3 separate regions of the Homo sapiens genome follow, and regions 2 and 3 are each linked to region 1. The links are contacts of gene promoters, found by promoter capture Hi-C in blood cells and fetal thymus (Javierre and others, 2016). All regions are on one chromosome and are shown on one strand. The core of a region is centred on a gene start or on the middle of the fragment in contact, and the rest is flanking DNA. Distances in the headings are between cores, read along the strand shown.

What was found. Contacts are between HindIII fragments. The CHiCAGO score rates a contact against its expected background, and 5 or more counts as called.
Region 2: a fragment that was not itself captured here is called in contact with the fragment with the promoter of TMEM184B in region 1 in 2 of 17 cell types (M0 macrophages and M2 macrophages); the score reaches 5.8 in M0 macrophages.
Region 3: the fragment with the promoter of SLC16A8 here is called in contact with the fragment with the promoter of TMEM184B in region 1 in 2 of 17 cell types (endothelial precursors and M0 macrophages); the score reaches 6.4 in endothelial precursors.

Annotation. Positions count from the first base shown.
Region 1 is chr22:38,271,403-38,274,602 of GRCh38, reverse strand. It overlaps TMEM184B (transmembrane protein 184B), which reads left to right and starts at 1,593. Exons shown (of 9, transcript NM_012264.5): 1 at 1,593-1,719. RefSeq lists a silencer at 1,441-2,070 and an enhancer at 2,133-2,842. The HindIII fragment of the contact is 13,147 bases long and covers 1-3,200 here.
Region 2 is chr22:38,059,036-38,062,235 of GRCh38, reverse strand. PICK1 (protein interacting with PRKCA 1) reads right to left here. Exons shown (of 13, transcript NM_012407.4): 3 at 2,891-3,002. Among named protein-coding and RNA genes, the nearest start is that of PICK1, 3.2 kb to the right of the region's middle. The HindIII fragment of the contact is 1,374 bases long and covers 1,091-2,464 here.
Region 3 is chr22:38,082,445-38,085,644 of GRCh38, reverse strand. SLC16A8 (solute carrier family 16 member 8) reads left to right here and starts at 1,461. Exons shown (of 6, transcript NM_013356.3): 1 at 1,461-1,657; 2 at 2,284-2,603; 3 at 2,764-2,985. The coding sequence starts at 2,772. It overlaps BAIAP2L2 (BAR/IMD domain containing adaptor protein 2 like 2), which reads left to right. Exons shown (of 14, transcript NM_025045.6): 14 at 270-745. The coding sequence ends at 345. RefSeq lists an enhancer at 1,196-1,977 and a silencer at 2,953-3,002. The HindIII fragment of the contact is 1,274 bases long and covers 300-1,573 here.

The DNA of each region.
Region 1 (3,200 bases), core at 344-2,843:
CCAACCTCCGCCTCCCGGGTTCAAGCAATTCTCATGCCTCCAGAGTAGCTGGGACTACAGGCATGTACCACCACACCCAGCTAATTTTTGTATTTTTAGCAGAGACAAGGTTTCACCATATTGGCCAGGCTGGTCTGTAACTCCTGGCCTTAAATGAGCCACCCGACCTCACAAAGTGCTGGGATTACAGGCGTGAGCCACCGTGCCCGGCAGATTTTAAAAGAATCTTGGCTGGGCGTGGTGGCTCACGCCTGTAATCCCAGCACTTTGGGAGGCCGAGGCAGGCGGATCACAAGGTCAGGAGATCAAGACCATCCTGGCTAACGCGGTGAAACCCCGTCTCTACTAAAAATACAAAAAATTAGCTGGGCATGGTGGCGGGCGCCTGTAGTCCCAGCTACTCGGGAGGCTGAGGCAGGAGAATGGCGTGAACCCGGGAGGCGGAGCTTGCAGTGAGCCGAGATCGCGCCACTGCACTCCAGCCTGGGCAACTTTGAGACAAAGAGCGAGACTTTGTCTCAAAAAGAAAAAAGAGAAAAAAAAAAAAGGATCTCCCTCACCCCTGAATTGATAGAATGGATCAGAGGGCAAGGCTGGAACAAGGGAGAGGGGTTAGCAGAACTCTGCAATAATCCTGTGCAAATACTGGACCAGGGTGGTAGCACTGGAGGAGGAGTGGCAGACATCTGAGTCTAGATCTATTTTGCAGGTAGAGCCAACAGGATCTCCTGCCTGCCTTATTGGGTAGCGGGCAGAAGGGGGGCATTCATTCACAGCTGACTCCGAGTTCTGGCCTGGGGACTGGAAGGATGGAATTGTCAACAGCTGATGGAGGCAAAGCTGAGAGGGAGCAGGTTTTTGTGTGTGGAAGTGGGGTTGGCTCAGCTCAGACACGCTGACTTTGAGATGCCTGCTGGAGCTCCAAGGAAGAGGTGTTGGGTAGACAGTTCAGGCGAGGAGTCTGGAGACATAAATACATTTGGGGATCTTGAGCACATCAATGCCAGAACTTAATTGCATTTTATCTTGTTCAGTTAACCTAGGTGATGTCTGGACCGGCAAACAGAAATGGACTAGGCGGCTTGAACCCTATCTGAAGACTTTTGCTAGTTCGGCAGCCTAGAGCCAGACGGGGCAAGAAAGAATCGCTGCTAAGCGGAGTGGGAAAAAAAGGCCTCTTTCAGTGCTTTGCCATTTCATCTGGCCTAATTGCACACAACACTCGGTCCACGTTCATTCCACAATTCCACACGCATCCTTCACTCAACAAATAGCCATTGTATTTCGTTTCATCTTCAAAACAGGCTCAAATGGAGGAAATTAGGGTTAAAAGAAGTGAAGCACCAGCGAGGGTCAGGGGCAGAGATCGCAGCCCAGAAAGCTCTCGCGGTTGGGGGCCGGTCGTAGCTGGTTTTGTGAGTGGCAAGAGAACCCGGGTCGCGCCCCAACCCGCGGGGCGGCGGGCTGGGGTTCGGGGCGGCGGGCTGGGGTTCGGGGCGCGGCCCCTTTAAGGCCCAGGCAGTGATCTCAGCCGCGTCCGCCGCCCCGCCCTCCCCGGCGGCGAGCCCAGAGCGCATGCGCGCCGCGGCTGCACTCCACTGGGCCCGGGACGCGCCGGCGGCGGCGGAGACTCCGGGGCTGCGGCGCCGCCCGCCCCGCCCGCAGAGTCCGGCTGCCGCGCATCGTCCGCAGACGCCGCCACCGCCATGGGCTCCTGAGGTATCCCGCCTGGCCGGCCTCGCCCGGGAGCCCCAAGGGGGAGCTGCGACTCCCGAGCGCGGGGGGCTGCTTGTTTCGGAGAGGCCCGCGCGAGGGACGCCCGGCTTCGGCCGCCGGCTCCCGGGCGGGGAGGGCACTACGGAGGCCGGTGCGGCCGCGGAGGGAGGGGGCATCCGTCTCCCCACCCGTGCCTCCTCTCCGCCCCGCGAGGTCGCCCGTGGGTGTGCCCGCTCCCTTTCCACGCCAACGTGGCGGGGGCAGCTCCTGGAGTGTAATCGGACCTGTCCGGGGGGCGGCCCCGGGAGAGGGAGGCGGATGGACCAAGGCGCTTTGCAAGAGGGATTGTGTGCTCCCGGGTGGGTGTGCTGGCGACTGGCACGGCCGAGTGAGTGGGGGAGGCGTCCGTGCCCTGTGCGGGTGGCAGTGACCTGGGAGGGTGGTCGGCGGGGGGCTTTCGGGGCTGCGTCGTGAGTGGAGGGTGTACACGCCCGCCACACAGGTCCGCAGGTTTGGAAGGGGATCGACTGGGACCTGGGGCTCGAAAGATGTTTGCCCCCAAAGGGACCGTGGAGACTGGTTTTGGGTGTCTGTATCCTTCCCGTGAATTGTACATTTCCTCCTGGGCACACCCTTGGTACCTCGCTTGGATCCACTTACCTCCAGTGCTGGGTGGCTCCAGGCCAAGGCAAGGCAGTTATGCTGGGGGTTGGGCATGGATTCCCAATACATATCCCCTCTGGAGGTGTTGTATAAGGCCAGACGTTTTACTCCTCCCTCCTTTCCAGGGCATTTTGGGGCAAAGCAGGTATTTGCATGCCTGATACCTGTGGTGAGGTGAAGGCCATGTATTATTTATCTGACTGCTGGTGCTTTTGTAAGGAAAGAAGCAGCAATCTGTGCCCTGGAGGCCCTGCGCTGCAGAGTCAGCCAGGCAAACAAGCTCACCTGCACCTGCAGAGGCAGCGCAGGTCTCAGAGGTGTGACTTCGTTGACAGGTTATGCCTACAGTGTCCCTTTCCATCTACCTATTTAGCTTCCTTGGTAGAACCCCTAGGCTCTGCACCTCTGAACCTTGCCTAGGGTGCTGTGCGTATCAGAGTTGGGACCTGGGACGCTGGGGTGGGAGAGCCCCAGCAGCCAGGTATGTGTGCCCACCTGGACAGAAACATTTGATGCCCAAGCCATCAAGGAGCTCTCAAGCATGGGGGAATCAGATTTGGAAACAGGTGATCACGATGATGTGAAAAATACCAAACAAAGGAGTAGAAGGAGTACAGAGGCAGGTTCAGTTCCCGGGGAGGGGGATCGTGGCCGCAGGAAAGACTCCCTCATAAGGAGACGGTTGAGCTGAAGCCTGAAGGATGACTGACGTTCATCTGAGGCTTTTCTGCTTTCCACATATATTTTCCTGTGTAATTTGCACAGCAGCTGTGTGAGTAAGGAACAGTTGTCCCTATTTGCAGATGCGGTAAACTGAGGCC
Region 2 (3,200 bases), core at 528-3,027, 210 kb after region 1:
AAAACATACTGAGAAAACAAGGAGAGTGCAAATGAAAAAAACAAAACAGGAAATTACCCCCACCCTCTCAAAACACAAGAACAGGCTGAATTAAGAAAAGAAACATAGATTCCTCAGAAAGTTAAACATAGAGTTGTTTTGACTAGAATGAGGGCTCCGCAAGAGTAGGATCTTTGCTTTCTTATTCTTTTATCCCTAGTGCCTACAACAGAGCCTAGGAGGCATCTGGAAAAGATTTCCCGAACAAAATCTCCGTTGTACTAATATTAATTTAGCCAAAAATAGAAAAATAACTATGTTGGAAAGGTGGGATGAGAGGAAACAGACTGGTCATGGGAAGAACTAAATTCTCATCTACCAGACGAGGCAAAGTCAATAGATATTTACAGGTGATAGATCAAGAAACAACAGGATAGGCTGAGCACGGTGGCTCACGCCTGTAATCCCAGCACTTTGGGAGGCTGAGGCGGGTGGATCACTTGAACCCAAGAGTTTGAGACAAGCCTGGGCAACATGGCAAAACACCGTCTCTACAAAAAATACACAAAAATTAGCCAGGTTTGGTGGCACGTGCCTGTAATCCCAGCTACTTGGAGGCTCAAGTGGGAGAATCATCTGAGTCTGGGGAAATCAAGGCTGCAGTGACCCATGCTTGCACCACTGCACTCCAGCCTGGGCGACAGAGTGAGACTATTGAGAAAAATGGAAGCCCATGCATGAAGAGACAGAGAAAGCCGGGTGAGGTGCCCAGGGGAAGGGCAGTGGATTGCTATTATTTGATACAGGGCTTTTAATGCTCTTGACTTGGTAGAGGCAAGTCATATGGCACTTTGATAAAAACAAAATTGAATTTAAAAAAATCAATTCTATGATGATGATGATTATTATTATTTTTGAGACGGAGTCTCACTCAACTGCCCAGGCTGGAGTGCAATGGCACGATCTCGGCTTACTGCAACCACCATCTCCCGGGTTCAAGCGATTCTCCTGTCTCAGCCTCCCAAGTAGCTGGGATTACAGGAACCCGCCATCATGCCTGGCTAATTTTTGTATTTTAGTAGAGACAGGGTTTCACCATGTTGGCCAAGCTTGTCTGGAAGTTTTCACCTCAGGTGATCTGCCCACCTCAGCCTCCCAAAGTGCTGGGATTACAGGTGTGAGCCACCGCACCCGGCCAGTTCTATTATTTTATTGGCTGGTGGTTCATGCCTGTAATCCTAGCACTTTGGGAGGCTGAGGTGGGTGGATCGCTTGAGGCCAGGAGTTCGAGACCAGGCCGGCCAACATAGCTAAAACCTCTCTCTCCTACAAATACGAAAATTAGCTGGGCATGATGGCGCACACCTGTAATACCAGCTACTCGGGAGGCTGAGGCATGAGAATCGTTTGAATCCAGGAGGCAGAGGTTGCAGTGAGCTGAGATCACGCCACTGCACTCCAGCCTGGGCAACACAGTGAGACTCTGTCTCAAAAAAAAAAAAAAATCAATTATACTATTTTATGATGTCTGTTCATTCTAAGCAAACTTGCACCTGAGGTAGGTAGAGGGAGGTGGCGAGAGGCTGAGCAGACACACGGCCAGGAGGCCAGGCCTGGGGGAGGTCTTGCTAATGCCTCCTGGGTCACAGGAGGCCGAATGGCTCATGAAGGAGGCAGCACTGTGAGCAGAAGCAAGACCAGGTCGATCCTGGGAATCTGTCTTCGAGGCCTACAAGCGACTCCTGAGCAAGATCCTCACAGAGGCCAGTTTCCCATCTGCCACCAGTGAGAGGGTTAGAACAGGTATTCCCAAGGCTACAGCAAGGTCACTGACTTGGATGAGCCACACAGTGAAGGAGGCCCCACAGCAGGCCTGTCACCACTCCTGAGTTACAGTGGACAGAATATCACCAGTGCAGCTTCCTCTGCAAGAGACACAAGAGTGTTCCTCACCACTGGCAGAGCATCTGGGAAAATGTACAGCTACCTGGAAAATAGCAGCAGCTACTGCTTAATGCATGGTTCTTTCTTTTTTTTGAAACAGGGTCTCACTCGGTCACCCAGGCTGGAATGCACGGAATGCAGTGGCGTGATCTCAGCTCACTGCAACCTCTACTTTCCAGGTTCAAGCGATTCTCCTACTTCAGCCTCCCAAGTAGCTGGAAGTACAGGCGTGCACCACCACGCCCAGCTAATTTTTGTATTTTAGTAGAGACGGGGTTTCACCATGTTGGCCAGGCTGGTCTCGAACTCCTGACCTCGTGATCCACCCACCTCGGCCTCCCAAAGTGCTGGGATTACAGGTGTGAGCCACTATGCCTGGCCAATGCACGTTTCTTAACTTCTAGTGTGTTAGGTCGTTTTGTTGACTTCTCACAAGAACCCAGAGATGATTGTGTCTACATGTTTTAAATCCCCGCTTTCTAGGTGATGAAACTGAGGCCCAAAGAGGTTAAGTAACTTGCTAGTAAGTAGGAAAGAAGCTTGCATTTGAACTCAGGCCATTATTTCATCGTGTTCCTATGACACTTCATTTTGGCTAGTACGCAAGGCTGATGGTTTTGTTGATTCAATAGTCAATTTCTATTGCATGTCCACTATGTGCCAGGCACTGTACCTGGTGCTTACTGCAGTGAAAAAGCAAACCAGGACACTGCCCTCAGTGCAAAGAGTCTACTCTACTAGACAGAGGGCAAATAACAAGTAATAAGTGCCGAGAAGGAAAAAAACAGAGCGACACAGGGGAGAAGACAGGGCAGAGCAACGCAGCGCAGGTGGTCAGAAAGCCCCTCTGAGAGGGTCAGACCTCAAGAATGAGAAGGAGTCAGCTATGCAGTGTGGAGAAATGAACCTGCCTTTGTCATGCCCAAGTAGGGATGTACCTTGTGCCCCCCTCCAAAGCGCCCAATACCTGGACGATATAGAGGCAGGGACAGTACTGGGCCCCTCCTCCAATGCTGATCCCGATCAGGTTCTGAGCATCCTTCTGCAGGGTCACCTTCCCAGGCACAGTCGGGATTCCGCTAGAAAGGAAAGCAAGCTAGGCTGACTCTCCTGGCAGAAGGATGACTGGAGCGGGTGGGCCCTCTAAAACTCCTGAGGGGCTCCACTGGCTGCCCAGCTTTTTCTCTCCCTCCCTTGGACAAAACAACATTTTGTGCTGGAACATGCACAGCTCTTGGAGTTAAGCAGATGTGGGATCAAACCCCAGCTCTGCCATT
Region 3 (3,200 bases), core at 212-2,711, 190 kb after region 1:
AGGTGCGGCGGCACACACTTGTAGTCCCAGCTACTAGGGAGACTGGGGCAGGAGGATCTCTTGATTCCAACAGTTCAACATCAGCTTGAGCAACACTGTGAGACCCTATCTCTTAAAAGAAAAAAAAAGATGAAGCGGGGCAAGGAGTGGATGGAGACCAAATAGGGGCAGGAGGCAGGACCCAGCTCAGTTGCCCAGCTGCCTTCCTGAGCCATGGCCAGGTGGGGATCATCTGCCCTTCTCACCCCATTCTCTCTCTCCTCCTACAGGGGCACAAATCCTTTTGCCACTGTCAAGCTTCGTCCCACCATCACCAATGACCGCTCAGCACCCCTCATCCGCTGAGGCGGGGTCCGAGGTCGTACCCCACAGTGCACCTGCCCAGGGGCTGTTCAGAGCTGGCAATGGCAGCGACAGCAGCAACAGCAGCAGATCCAAGAAGCGGGTCCCTGAGACGGGGGGTGGCTGCCCTCCCCAGACCACCCCGGCAGCCTGAGCAGCTCCAAAGCACTGGCTTGGGGTCCGAGACCTTCAAAGTAAAGCAGGCGGAATGGGGGGACAGGACAATTTCTCCCCCTCCAGGGGCTCCAGGACTCTCCCTGGGGGGCCCACCTCTTGCCCCCTAACCTCTTTCCCCCTTTTCTGCCCCCGTGGGGAGGAGCCCCTTGTACCTGCTCCGTGCCCAACACATGCCCTCTCTGTACATCTTTTGTAAATGATGAGAAATAAAGGAAGTGGACGCAAAGTGATGCGGCAGCAGGACTGGTGGTGTCTTATTTGGGGGACAGGGCAGGGGGTGAGGGATAGAGACTCCCCCATTGGAGAATGGGGTCTAGGGGGTACTGAGGTCCTGGCTGTTCCCCGGGAAGCCATCTCACTCCCAGCCCCTTGTTTGTTTGTTTGGAGAACTCTTTAGGGCTGCCCCAAAGCCCTCGCGCTGCAGCCCCCATCTCCACCTGCTCTCATTTCGACCTGTGGGTTTCCTAGGAAGTAGCGGCTGCTCGGGTCAGGGGAGAGGTGGCAGTGGCCAAGGGCTGGGACCACCAGCAAGCTGCCCTCAGGCGGCCTGGACACAGCACCCTTTGTTTTGGCCCCTCCCCCCCCCACATTCCCAGGCACAGGCGTGGATTAGCTTCATTCTAGAGAAAGCTGCCAGCCCCTCCTGGAATGTGGCCTGGGGCGGGGGGTTGGGGCGGGGGCAGATGAGGCACTGAGGTGATTAGAACCGTTGGGGTCTCTTCAGGGCAGGGCTGTGCCCCCAGCACCAGACTAGGACCCCCTGGGCAAGGTCTCTGTGTCTACCACCCCAGGCTCCAGGAGGCACAGGGATTCTCTTCCTCCCTCCTGGACTGGCTTGGGACAGGGAGCCCACCGCCGAGGCCCAGCCTGGCCTGGGGCTCCCAGTCTCTTCTCCCCTCCTGGACAAAAGCCTCTTAGCAGGGGTGAGGTGTGGTGGGGGCACACACTCTAAGCTCCAGGCCTGGGGCAGGGAGCGTCAGGCGGGAGTCGGCCAGAGGCTCAGCCCAGGCTGGTGGGAAGCTGGGGTGTCTGGCAGCCCCCATCCGGGTAAGCTTCACCGGGAGCTGCGGCGGCGGCCCCTCCCTGCAGGCCTCAGGAGATGTGAGGCTGGACCCCCAAACCCACGAGGCAGGCTCAGGTGAGTGTGATGTGAGGGCTGCCTGGGATCACCCTCCTGTCTCCACCTTCAAGTGGCTGCCCCTGTGACAAGAGGACAACAGGCAGGAAAAGCCACAACCTGGTCCTAGTGGAGGAGGGGCAGAGTCCCGGATACCCTGGGGGTGGTGGCACTGCCCAGTGCCAGGAGGGACACTCCAGGCAGGAGGGCAGGAGGCTATCCCCAGCCCCCGGCTCCTGGTGCACCTGTCTCTGAGTACACCCTCCTCATCTGTTATGGGGGCGCTTGTAACTGCTGTGAGGGCCCCGGGTGGAGCCCCAGGAATGAGACAGGCTTTGGAGCCATTCTTTTCATATAGAGGGTTTGAGGTTTGGAGGGCAGAAGGCCACTCTCTCAGTGCTGCTAAGGTTCCTACCTGTCTGGCAGAAGCCAGAGACCTGACTCCTCTCCCGCAAGATTCCCAGCTGGCCTCGGGGTGATCAATCACCCATCTTACATCGGAGGAAAGGGAGGTTGGGAGAGGGGAGGCGACCGGCCCAAGTCAGGGAGGGAATCCATGGCTGAGCTGAGATGCATGGGAACTCAGCTCCCCTGGCTGATATCTGTTGAAAGTGGCTTTTGTCCCCTTAATGTTCTAATGACAATAGTCATTTGTGATCACTGAGAAACATTAGGAACATGGCGGAAGGCTAAAGAGGAAAATCACGCACAGCGGCCCTTTGCAGCCGGCATCTGCCCCTCTGCTGTTTGTTCTGTTGTCCCGAGACCCTCACGCGTACGGGGCGACTTTGGTGCTGGACGCCCACCTCCAGGCACATACCTGCTCCACTTCCCGACGCCTTCCACCTGAGGCCCTGAGGGGCCAGCAGTTGTCCTTCAGAGGGAGCCTGCAGAGGTGCAGAGTCAGGTGGGACCCGTCGTCCTCCCCTCGTCCTTCAGCGCCCTTTGCAGGAGAAGGAGACTTGGGGTGAGAGTCCTACCTCCGTTTCCCCTTTTGGTTCCCAGACCTGAGCCACCCTCACGTGGGTAGCCCTGTGCCTCAGTTTCCCCATGCTTCGTCTCCATCCCCCTCCTTCTCTAGGCTGCTGGCCCAGCCCCTCCCTCTTGTCCCCGCCCCCTCCCAACAGAGGCAGCGATGGGCGCTGGCGGCCCCCGGCGGGGCGAGGGCCCCCCAGACGGCGGCTGGGGCTGGGTGGTGCTGGGCGCCTGCTTTGTGGTCACCGGCTTCGCCTACGGCTTCCCCAAAGCCGTGAGCGTCTTCTTCCGCGCGCTCATGCGCGACTTCGACGCCGGCTACAGCGACACGGCCTGGGTGTCCTCCATCATGCTAGCCATGCTCTACGGCACGGGTCAGTGTCCCCGCCCGGCCCTCCGCCTCCCCGGGACCCCTGGGATCCGGAACCAGGAGACACCCGAGCCCCTGAGCATCCCCCTGACCCTCGGGGTGGCCCCCGAAGTCCCTTCCTGCCTGTGGGAACCCTGGCACCAGAAAGAGGGGAAGAGAGGGCGGGAGGGAGACAGCGGCCAGAGGCGGGGCCGGCCCAGGGGGCTGCCCTGCGAGCTC